4 separate regions of the Homo sapiens genome follow, and regions 1, 2 and 4 are each linked to region 3. Evidence: promoter capture Hi-C in 16 types of primary human blood cells and fetal thymus (Javierre and others, 2016). All regions are on one chromosome and are shown on one strand. Each heading gives the region's core, a stretch centred on a gene start or on the middle of the fragment in contact. The rest is flanking DNA. Distances are from core to core; before and after follow the strand shown.

Region 1 (2,700 bases), core at 140-2,639, about 66 Mb after region 3:
TCATCCCCAAATCTTTACTGATTGCTAATCTTTCTGCAGAGCTGAAGTCGATTCCTTTAAAGATCCTTAATATTCCGGTCCTCGCCCCACCTCCCATCAGAGGGGTAGGTCTTAACATTATCTCATTTGCTACAAAGTAGTATTCAGTGGGCTTTTAAAATTTTATGAAGAGCGTTGAAATGCACTATCGAAAAATTTAAAGCTCTATGTATTCAGAAATTGACAGTACTTTAAACAAAACCGAAAAAAAACCTAGATATCCCTTCATCTTCCTTAAAGATGACCTCTCCGCGCTCTCTCCAACAATTTTCCCCATCAACGTTGCCAAGACACTTATCCATTGTATGAAGGACCTAGTTTTACGTTTACTGGTTACCTACCGTTTCCATGACACTGGGCTAGGAGCTAGGACAAATATACAAAAAGGCCTAAAATAAGCATCATATTTCTCTCCGAATTCCCAACACCCGGCAGTGCAGTAAATATTTAACGGGTTACTTTAAGGGATAAACCGTTTGCTATTAAAACCTATGAGGTGAGGGCTGAGGAAGGGAACGGCATTTGATGGGGAGACGAGGTAAGAAGAACGAGGTATTAATATCCGACATCAAAATGGGCTTCTAGGTCTCAACGTCTTAGACCTCACCACCAGAGCCAGTACCAAATTACACCCGTGGCACAATTTTCGGCTCAATACTGTTCTCGGTTTACCCTTACTAGTGCAGCTAAAGTTAACTCTCAACAGCACATTGTAAAAATCATCCAGGCAGGAAAAATCTGTACAAACGTGCACGAACATTTCGACATTGTCACGGGAACATTTAGAACCCAAAACAGGGAGAGTCTTGCCGTCTCTATACTGAGTACAAAGGCCCGAGAAAGCACTCTCATCGGCCCCCCAAAACGCACGTACGAAATCCCTTGACTAAGCTCTTTCACTCCTCGACCCTCTCAGAATTTCCTTCCTCAATCCCCCTTCCTACGCAGGTCTCCGGCTCTCAGCGTGTGGGCCTCTTCAAACCTTCTGACCCTCATAAAGATTAAGGGAGGCATTTCCCACTCATTCTTCTGGTTTCTTCCCTGGGCTCTCCCGCTGCAGGCCACCTCAGGCGCGTCCTCCTCCAACCACCCTTCCCGGCCTACTCCAGGCTTTAGTAGGCCTCAACCCTCAGCCACTCCGCCATTATTATTTACATCGTCGTCTGGGGAGGCTGAACGCTTCACCCCATGCGGGTGAGACTCTCTGGCAGCACTCATCCTTGCGGGGATCCCGACGAAAAATGCCGAACCCTCTCGCCGCTCTTCCCAGCCGCAAAACCAGCAGCTTACAATCCGCCAAGGGCCCAAGCAGCGCCACTACAGAACGCAGAGCCCCTCCGGGCCTTCTCTGCCACAGTCGTCACCGTTGCGGCCCCTCGCCGCCCCGGGGCACTTTGGGAGTTGTAGTTTTCTGATTCATTGCATACTGGCCCGAATAAAAAAGATGTGTCCGTGACTAAAACTACAATTCCCAGGAAGCCCCGAGGCTCAATTCGCGCTGTGTGGCGGGAGTGCCCTCAGAGGCCCCGCCTTCGGCTGGTGGAGGAAGCGTTCCCGCGGATGTGTATGGCGGTGAGCGTTGGCCGAGAGCTTTGTCGCCACAGGAGGAGGCTTAGAGGGGTTTTTGCCTTTCACCGTGCAACGCTGCCCTACTGGCAAATGTATCATCGTAGCTAGGCACCTATGTTTAAATGTAATGTTTGAGGCTGACTGAATCCTCACGAATACCCTCCACCCAGGACAAAAACCTTAACCAAAAATGGCTTCTACCATTTCCACCCTGGTGTTCTCTATTGCGCGCAGGGGATTTCTAGGTGGTCGGTGATGCTGCTTTCTAAATGTTTTCATGAATATTTCGCTGTTTTCCCATACAGAAATGAGTTCAGTATGTTGTTAAATGTTGGCTAATTGGCGGTTGTTGAAAACGGGGATTTAGCTGAGGGAAATCTGTTAAGTTTTCATATGGCTTTGTGTGAGGTGGGAGTGCTCCTCACTGACCTCGCTGTGGATGTCTGGGCACCGTTACAGTAGGGGCCTTCACCAAGCAAAGTCCATCCCTGCCACAAAAGCCTCTATTTTTTTTCTTTTTTAAAAAAAGTAATTATTGAGGTTAAATTCACATATAAAATTAACCATTTTTTAAAAAGTGTACAATCCACTGTCACTTAGTACATTCACAATCGTGTGCAGCTGTCACCTCTGATTCCAAGAAGTTTCACCACTCCAAAAGGAACCCCAATGCCCGTTAGCAATCCCTCCCCATTTCTCGCCCTCTCTCCAGATTCAAGTGATCACTCCTCTACTCAAAAAGCCCTGCATTTAAAGCTATTTATTGTTCAGATACTGAAGACTATCTCCTACTTTATTAAGGTGTCTGAATTTGTAACCAGGTCTGAACTTAACTTTCTGTCAGAATCCTTGTCCTTAATAATTCTGAAGCTTTCTCACCTTGAATACAAATGTGATTTTTTTTTTTTTTAAGCAAAAATTAGGCCTGGCGCCATGGCTCAGGCCTGTAATCCCCAGCATTTTGGGAGGCTGAGGCGGGTGGATCACGAGGTCAGGAGTTCGAGACCAGCCTGATCAACATGGTGAAACCACGTCTCTACTAAAAATACAAAAATTAGCCTGGCATGATGGCACATGCCTCTAATCCCAGCT
Region 2 (2,700 bases), core at 59-2,558, about 25 Mb after region 3:
CTTCCAGTACTTTGACTCAGATACCACTTCATATTAGACAAATGTTTTATATTCTCTACTGAGTATTTTCCATTTTCATAGGGCTAATGTCATTTTCAGTTGTAATAATCGATTGGCATAGTGTCAATGGAAATTTTTTAAGATTGAGTTTGTAGTGAGCAGACTTTTGGAAGGAACAGTGCTGACATCCAATGGATGCTCAAAGTAATACAGAGGAGGAATCTCCTTTCAAAAAAAAATGTACAGACAGTGGAATGGAGAATGAATTATTCCCTAAAAAAAAAAAGCCACTGTGGGCTGGATGTGGTAGCTCACCCCCGGAATCCCAGCGCTTTTGGATGCCAAAGTGGGAGGATCCCTTGAGCCCAGAACTTCCAGACCAGCCTGGGCAACATAGGGAGACCACCCTCTACATAAAAAATAAAAATAAAGCTTTTAAGCTAACCTGGTGGCGTGATGGGATGCACCTCTGGTCCCAGCTACTCCAGAAGCTGAGAAGGGCAAATCGCTTGAGTTCAGGAGTTCGAGTTGGAGGTTACACTGAACTATGATAGTACCTTTGCACGCCAGCCTGGGTGACAGAGAGCTTGTCTTAAAAAAAGTAAAGAAGGCTACGGTGTTGTAGAGGAAAGATCCCAGACTTTGCAATTATAGTAAGTAGCAAAGCTACCAATTAATTATCTTAGCAAGTTGCTATTACATGAACCTATTTCACCATTGGTAAAAAGGGGGAAAAAATCTATTTCACAGGGCCATAATTATAGTTCCTTACGTATTGCTTTTTTATAGTAGGCCTTTTGTAAATGTTTAATTCAAGGTGAATAAATCACAGTGGTAAAAAAGGTGAAGAGTTAACCTCAGTGTTACTTTCCAAAGAAATTGCTATAAGGCAGTGTATCTAGGCAGGGATTATGCTTAATTGAGATGCACACAGTTTAACATCTGGTGTCAAACCTGGCTTCCTTCTTTGTGACCACCCTATAGATGTTTGCTTTTGGGACCACTGAGTAAACCAGGCCCTGAGAATCCAAGCATGAATCCACTTCTGCCCTACTTTTAAGGATTTACGTTCCATGCAGGAAAGCAGATAACCATAATTTCTGAATAAATAAGACAACAAAATGAAATGGATGCTGGTCAACTCTGATGCAAATTTTAAGAAGGAGACTATGCCTCTGTGTCTCCCAGCTTCACAGAAAAAAAAAAAAGAAAAAAGAAAGATGCTCAGAGTGGGGTACCTACACTTGGAAAAAACGCAAGTATAAGTCTGCCATTCCCATGAATCCAAGATGAATCCTGGCACAGAGTAGGTCCTCAAATTTTGCAAAATTAATTTTGAATCTTTATCACCCTGGCCAATGCACTGCCATAATGCAAATCTTACTATCTACCTTTCTATGTCAGTCACATTTTTAAAACTGTGTAACCTATGAAAAAAAAAAAAAAGCTCACCAAATCAAAAGAGAGGAAGTGCTAAGCAAATACAGGAACCAAAAAGGTTTATAGAGGCTGCCTTATGCTGTCTCATCCAGTTCCTTTGCGGTCCTCTTCTTCAGCACATGCCAAAGCTGTTCCTCACGGCCTGTGAGACAAGAGCATCTTGGATGTAGGACAATGGAAGAGTTAGGTGAGTGAGGAGCCTGAGGAGAAACTCTGAGGGAGTGAAGACTTGGCTGCCATCTCCTTGTGTGGTGGGGTATACTTCTGGCTAGACTGAGGGTAGTAATGGAAGATTTTATTTTCACTTCTTTCCTGTCCTCAGCCCTGCCAAGAGTGAAGCATGAGGAACTATGATTGTTTTGGGGAACTATGGGTTCACTGTTTGCAGTGGCAAAATAGATGGAGAGTTTGGTGCTAACCGCGGAATAAACTCTTGGCAAATACTTTTGGACTGGATTGTTACTGCAGTTGTTGTCTTGTTATGGGCGTTTTGCCCTTTGGAGGTCACTGGAGATCAAGGGTGGCCACATAGCGAGACAATGCAGAGATATGATTTGAGGAGGAAAAGAAAGAGCAAAAAGGGAATTGGGGTGTTATGAGGAAGAAAAGACGGACTAGAAGTATAAGAATGAGGGATCTGTAGAGGTTGGAAAAAGGCCAGAGTGGTTTCATTTGTTCCATGTTTTAGTATTAAATCAAGAAGGCATAGCACTCTAACTCTAGTGATTTTGTTGCTAAGCTTTTTATTCAGAAGAATTCTGAAGGAAGAGATTACTAGGGCCTGAAAATATGACACCTCCTTCCACTCTAAGACAATTAAAACCAGCAGTGGAACTATTAACCATATTAACCAGAGAAATCCTGGATTTCAAACCTTTGGAGTAATGTAAGGTTTGTCATTCTTGGGACTCATTCCATAGCCTTTGCCAACATCTGTTGCCAGCATCTTAACTAACACTGAGTCACTAAACTATACCCAATTTCCAAACTGTATTAATTCCACAGTGTCCTGGTTTGGGGTGTGTTTGGGGATAGGGTATGTCAAAAGTGCAAAAAACAACAACAAAAAATATCTTGCACATTGTTACATTGTCTTAAAAAAAATGGCGTGTGATTTCAAAGCTGGAGAAACAGAGGAAAAGTAAAGGGCAAATTACCAGGAGGCAAGAGATGTTAATGAAGAGAAAAAGGTAGTGTTTAATAAATATCAAACTGCTTTGGAGGTAAAGTCTATTTTGATATTGGGCCAGACTCTTTTTT
Region 3 (2,700 bases), core at 80-2,579:
AGGGAGAAAAAGAGAAAAGGAAGAGGAGGAGGGACTGAACTTTTCAGAGAAACTGCAAGTACTTGTTACCCTCTGGGCCAGTTCTCCACCTACAGGTTGGATAAGATCTCCTCCCCCCACCCAAACCCCACCCTCAACCCCACTTGCCCCTATTTTGGGACAAATTAGACCCTCCAATAGGAGAATAAAAGTTTTATCTAGCCGCCCCCACCCCAAAATGGGGCTGACGGGAGTGAGCAGCTGCCTGGCTGGCAGGGAATGGATTCTCCTCTCTTCCCTTTCGCATCATGTGCTTTTCAGGCGCCATGTTGGGCTCCTAACAGGCGGCTGCTCCACTCGGGGCCAAATCCCTATTCCCACCCACCAACAGCTCGCTCCCAGGTCCCCCTTCACCTCCTTCCAACCCACAGAACACAATTACCAAAAAGGGTGCTTGGGGAAAATGGGAGACCCACTCTCCCACTTCCCAGGGAATTAAAATGGCTTATGTTAACTCTTACTTCCCCAAACCACAAACTGCCTTTAAGTCTCCCCCACCCCAAAGGGCTCTATTCAAAGCGTGTGTGTGTCGGGATATACAATGCGGTGGCCTAAAAAGGGAGTTGGAAAGCGGAAGTGGGACTCCACCCTTTATCCTCCCCACTCCCTCCCCCCCAGAGGCCCATGCTCGAAGCCTGGGCCAAAGACCGAGCCTGAGTTGGAGGGGGGTGGGGGGGTTGGAGAGAAGGAACACTGTCCCCCTTGGGATGGAAGCGAGACCTGGGATGAGGCTGACACTAAAATCAGGGAGTATTAGAAGTAATAGGAGGCTGCGGGGTGTATAAAAACCTTGGCGGTTTGGGCCTCGATGAGAGAGACGATCTCCTTGGCGAAGGGCAGGTTCTCCTCGGCTAGAATGGTCAGCATATTGATGTGCGGCTTGCTATTGAAGGTCAGGTCTTCGAGCGATGACTGATAATCCCGACAGGCGTCCTCCCGGGCCCCCGCAGCACCGGCCTCGGCCGGCGTCTGCTCTGACATTGCGCCGCGGCCCCCCTCCGAGGTCCGCTGCAGCTGAAGCTGAAGCCGCTCTGGATACCCCGCCTCCCTTCCGACTCCTCTTCCTCTCCCCGGCTCTCTCGCGGCTCCGGCTTCACCACATGCTGACCGCGGAGGGGGGATGGGGGACGACACAGGGGGAACCTCGGGTATGAAACGCCGCCGTCTCGCGGGTGATCTCCGTCCACTTCCAGCCGCCACAGAAGCTTCTTTCTCCACAGACACAAAATGGCGGCGGCAGTGGCGGCTCCAGCTCCGAAAATGTCTGTGTTCCCAACCGCTGCGTCGTGCGAAATGAACTAGGGGAGGGGAAATGTGCGGTAAAAGGGCGGGGCCACTGATAAAACCAGGCGTGATTGGCTGTCCCGGCAACGTCACGAGCCCCGCCCCCGGCCCTTCCGCAGGACGCCCTGGCACCGCCTTCTTCTCCGGCCTCTACCCGGACTTTCGCAACATCTACTGCTCGGAGGCGCACTGGAAAAGACGGCCCTTCTCATTGGCCGATTCATAAGGGACTGTTCGGTCATTTGTTACCATAACAACCCATTCAGGGAAGCCAATAGGCCTGGGAAGGCAGTTCCCGCGGCCCAACCCAACCACTTTGAGAAGAAGACTCAGCCGTCCCCTCTTCGTCCCTCCCTCTAGCTTCCCAGCCACTGAGCGGGCCTGTCAATCATCTTTCCTCCCGCCTGCCCCGTAGCTGCTACCGACGGTGGGGGTTGGAGGGAGCGGGGGTTGGAGGGAGCGGAGGCTTTCTGCCGCCGCACCCCCTCTCCCTTAGCGTCTCAGGTGCTCTGGAGAGCCAGGGCGGGTCCAGCTGCCCCTCTGGGAACTGGGAAGTGGGAGGGAGGTGCCCAATTTACCCGGAACTTCGGAAAGCACTGCTGGAGAGTTTCTTCCAGCACGCCGCTTCCCACACCCACAAAAATACCTAGGCGAGCTTGCCTGACTTGAATCCCCAGGAAAATGCCTTTTATTTAGAGATTAAGTGTGAAAGGCTTTTTCCTTGGGGGTTTGGAGGAGCTCTTTAAGGAGCCCACTATGAGCTCTAGGAAGAGTTTTTCACAACAGCCACACCCAGCTGGACCGTAATATCTCCACTGTGAATCTGCATTTCAGAACCTCCTTAGCATACACTATTTGGGGCACGTAGGAAAACACACACGCGCATGCACTTTTGTTTTAAACTTGTGGGGCTGTCTTCCCAGGTTGGAAATGATGCTCGTAAAACACACAAAGCTTTCAAATAGTTCACCGTGGAGCTGCGACATAACACAAACCAAACGTAATTTTTTCATTGAGTAGCGATATTGACCTAAATATAAGCTTTTAAAATGTGTCAATTACGGGCTGGGCGCGGTGGCTCACGCCTGTAATCCCAGCACTTTGGGAGGCCGAGGCGGGCGGATCACGAGATCAAGAGATCGAGACCACCCTGGCCAACATGGTGAAACCCCGTCTCTACTAAAAATACAAAAATTAGCTGGGCGTGGTGGCGTGCGCCTATAGTAGTCCCAGCTACTCGGGAGGCAGAGGCAGGAGAACCGCTTGAACCCGGGAGGTGGAGGTTGCAGTGAGCCGAGATCACGCCACTGTACTCCAGGCTGGTGACAGCGAGAGTCTGTCTCAAAAAAAAAAAAGTGTCAATTACCTAAAATTGCT
Region 4 (2,700 bases), core at 18-2,517, about 47 Mb before region 3:
AAAACAAAACAACAAAACAAAACAAAAAACAGTAAAGAGAATACTATTGAGTTAATTTTACAGTTTTTCACGCTGTGGGTGTTTTCTATTCTCGTCTTTTGCTTAGCTGTCCTGTCTCCCTCTTTTTCTCAGGCAATAGTTTAGGATTTTTGTAAGTTATATTGTCAGTACTTCTCATTTAAGTTCCAGACAGTGTGCTAAGCAAAGCACTTTACTCGGTAAAGTAAGAGCTCACTTAATCTTCAAAATAACGTAGCAAGGTAGATATCACGAACATAGCAAGGTAGATATCACCGAAGGGAAAACCGCTCCCCGAAGGTCCGAAGGTCCAAGGTCTCTCTGCCATCTAGCTGCCCTGCGTATTGCCTGCCAGTGGGTAGTTGGAGCTGGGTATCTCTCCAAAGCTGGGCTCTTGGCTGCCCTTTGTGAAGGCAATTTTAAGGGACAGCAGGATGTGGAAGCCTGCGGTTAAGGAGTGAGCTGAGTCACTGGGTAACCAGTGTTGAATAATGTTTCTCAATGTCTGAAATGACACTCACTTCCTTTCCAGATTGGTAGAGGAGAAAAAAGAGGCGCAGTGAAAGCGCTCTCAAGGTGCGGTGGGTCAGGGTGATAGGCGGCGCCCGGCCGCTCCCTGGGGGTCCTGAGGGCGAGACCCCGGCAGGCTCCCGACTCCGGGAGCCGGGCGGGAGTTCGGTTTTCGCCGGCGCTCCACGGCCAGGCCACTTCGGAGGCAATCTGTGGCGGGGCGGGCGGACGCGAGGGCCGCCTCACCCCCGCGCGTCTTCCGGGACACCGGGCCCTCGGGCGCGCGGGAGGCGGGCTTAGCACGGGCGCAGGCTGCCCTCGGCGCCCGAGACACCCAGGCACAGCTGGAAGCTTCCTCCCCGTTAGCACGCGGGCCGCAGCGGGGGCTTGACCCCAATGCGAAGAGTCGGGTTTTCTGATTGGCTGAGAGTAGAAACGCAGGCGAGCGCCGCCTGAGACCCGCTCTGCGATTGGGTTTTACACGAACAGCAGAGCACGAAATAAAGAGGCCTTCAGTCATTGGGCCATTATGTGAATCTCCTTTTGGCTTCTCTGCAGACTGAATAAGCGTCTCAGGATCTTCGTCATGACTCCTAAATCTGGGCCTGTCAGTTCGCCCCAGCGTTTCTCGTCTCTAGGCACGGCATGGGGCTTACAGAGTTTAACCAATCATATAACGTCGAGATCAGGTTGCCAGGCAGATTATGCTAATAAGACCCCGCCTTTTATGCTGCTCCCACTCTGCGGCGGGAAGAACCACCTGGAGGTGGCGGGGGGGGTTGATTTCTATCACCCCTAGGGAGAGAGGATCGGGGACCCGCTGATCTTCCAGCTCCCCTCACCCAACGTCGTGTAAGTACCTAAAGGATTAAGGGAACCAGATAAGCCAGGGTCCAGACTACCCCATAGACTGGGAGGGTGTTTCGTCTTTGCTTAGTCCCACCCAAAATGGCGCCCAGCTCTTTCCGCGTCTCAGAGCCCGGCCGGGGCCAACCGACCGCGGACCCGGGTGGGGGGGGAATTGATGGTGGTGGTGGGGGGGAGAAATCCCGGCGGCACCGCCCGATGGTACAGTCCAGCCGGGGCTGGGACGAGGCACCTCACTCGGGGTGGGGGGTCAAACCATCTGCACCTTCCAAGGGGAAGAGGGCAAGGCCCCCTCCAGCAGGCCCTCCTGGCGCCGCGTTCAGCGCCGGCCTCGGCGTCTCGTCGCCCCTGCCTTCGCCGCGCGCAGCCTCCCCCTGCGACCCCCGAGTGGCTCGCACGCTCCGCCGGCCGCGCGCACCTCTCCTCCCCTGCCCGCGTTGGTTGGGCCGGGACGGCGGTTGGGCGGCCTGCGCGCTCCGGCGGCGGCGGTTGCGCGGGCGCTCCGGGCGCGGCGGGCAGGTCTCCGCCGGCCGGGAGCCGAGCACCGGGGGCTGGGGGCCGGGCGCCGGGCTGGGGGTGGCAGTGCGGGCAGGGCTCCGGGGCTGGCCGGTTGCGGGCGCGTGGGGCGGAGGGTCCTGTTCGATGGGGCGCCCAGCTTTGTCTGCGGAGGCCGCGCCGCCCACTTGCCATCGATGGCTGGGCCCCCGGCCTGCCTTCCCAAGCTAGCGTCCGGGACCGGGGCGGGGGGCCGGCCCGCAGGGGTGTGGGGTGGCCCCTGCGGGTCTGTCCCGTGGCACCGCGTCGGGGCTGGCCGGGCGGAGGCGGAGGCCGAGGCCGGGGTCGCGGCCCTGCCCCAGTCCGCCTGCACCCAGGGTGCAGCGCAGAGGCAGGGCGAGGCCGGTCGGCGCTCGGGAGAGGGCTGATGGTGTGCACCTCTCCAGCCCCTCGCCAGCTTTTGTTAAGCAGGTTTAACCCTGCAGCTAGGTGTTGATACTCTACTAAGTAAAATGGAATATTCCCCGTCTGCCCTCCAGCCACGCGAACGCAGCGCTGTTGAATTTGTGTGCGCGCCTTTAGCCTTGCTTGGTGGATGAGTTGGATTTTAGTGCATTTTCAATCAATGTGCGTGTACACTTAAGCACAAGGAGAGGTGGCTTTGTGCTGTCATCGAGGATTAGATGTGTGATGAGACCCACCCAGCTCTGCCCTGTGCCCTAATTCTGCTGCTTTGCCTGTTGAAACCTTGCCTGTCTCGTCACCCCAAATTCTCTAAACTTAGCAGTACTTAACCTTTATTAAAAACAG

Evidence for each region. Contacts are between HindIII fragments. The CHiCAGO score rates a contact against its expected background, and 5 or more counts as called.
Region 1: the fragment with the promoter of C11orf58 here is called in contact with the fragment with the promoter of PCF11 in region 3 in 1 of 17 cell types (naive CD8 T cells); the score reaches 5.2 in naive CD8 T cells.
Region 2: a contact is called between a fragment that was not itself captured here and the fragment with the promoter of PCF11 in region 3, in 3 of 17 cell types (total CD8 T cells, fetal thymus and activated CD4 T cells). The highest score is 10.7, in total CD8 T cells.
Region 4: the fragment with the promoter of PRDM10 here is called in contact with the fragment with the promoter of PCF11 in region 3 in 2 of 17 cell types (fetal thymus and total CD8 T cells); the score reaches 30.4 in fetal thymus.

Annotation. Positions count from the first base shown.
Region 1 is chr11:16,737,336-16,740,035 of GRCh38, reverse strand. C11orf58 (chromosome 11 open reading frame 58) reads right to left here and starts at 1,389. Exons shown (of 5, transcript NM_014267.6): 1 at 1,195-1,389. The coding sequence starts at 1,257. It also overlaps a transcript of SOX6 not described here. RefSeq lists an enhancer at 886-1,515. The HindIII fragment of the contact is 4,072 bases long and covers 1-2,480 here.
Region 2 is chr11:58,574,687-58,577,386 of GRCh38, reverse strand. LPXN (leupaxin) reads left to right here and starts at 1,531. Exons shown (of 9, transcript NM_004811.3): 1 at 1,531-1,627. The coding sequence starts at 1,615. RefSeq lists enhancers at 1,539-1,588, 1,599-1,658. The HindIII fragment of the contact is 1,747 bases long and covers 435-2,181 here.
Region 3 is chr11:83,155,760-83,158,459 of GRCh38, reverse strand. PCF11 (PCF11 cleavage and polyadenylation factor subunit) reads right to left here and starts at 1,329. Exons shown (of 16, transcript NM_001346413.3): 1 at 829-1,329. The coding sequence starts at 1,020. RefSeq lists silencers at 164-223, 1,674-1,753 and enhancers at 1,024-1,273, 570-1,359, 1,424-1,473. The HindIII fragment of the contact is 1,033 bases long and covers 1,247-2,279 here.
Region 4 is chr11:130,001,402-130,004,101 of GRCh38, reverse strand. PRDM10 (PR/SET domain 10) reads left to right here and starts at 1,267. Exons shown (of 21, transcript NM_199437.2): 1 at 1,267-1,380. It overlaps PRDM10-DT (PRDM10 divergent transcript), which reads right to left and starts at 1,478. Exons shown (of 1, transcript NR_024233.1): 1 at 1-1,478. RefSeq lists silencers at 544-933, 1,644-1,963, 1,974-2,023, 2,054-2,233 and an enhancer at 1,044-1,133. The HindIII fragment of the contact is 10,759 bases long and covers 882-2,700 here.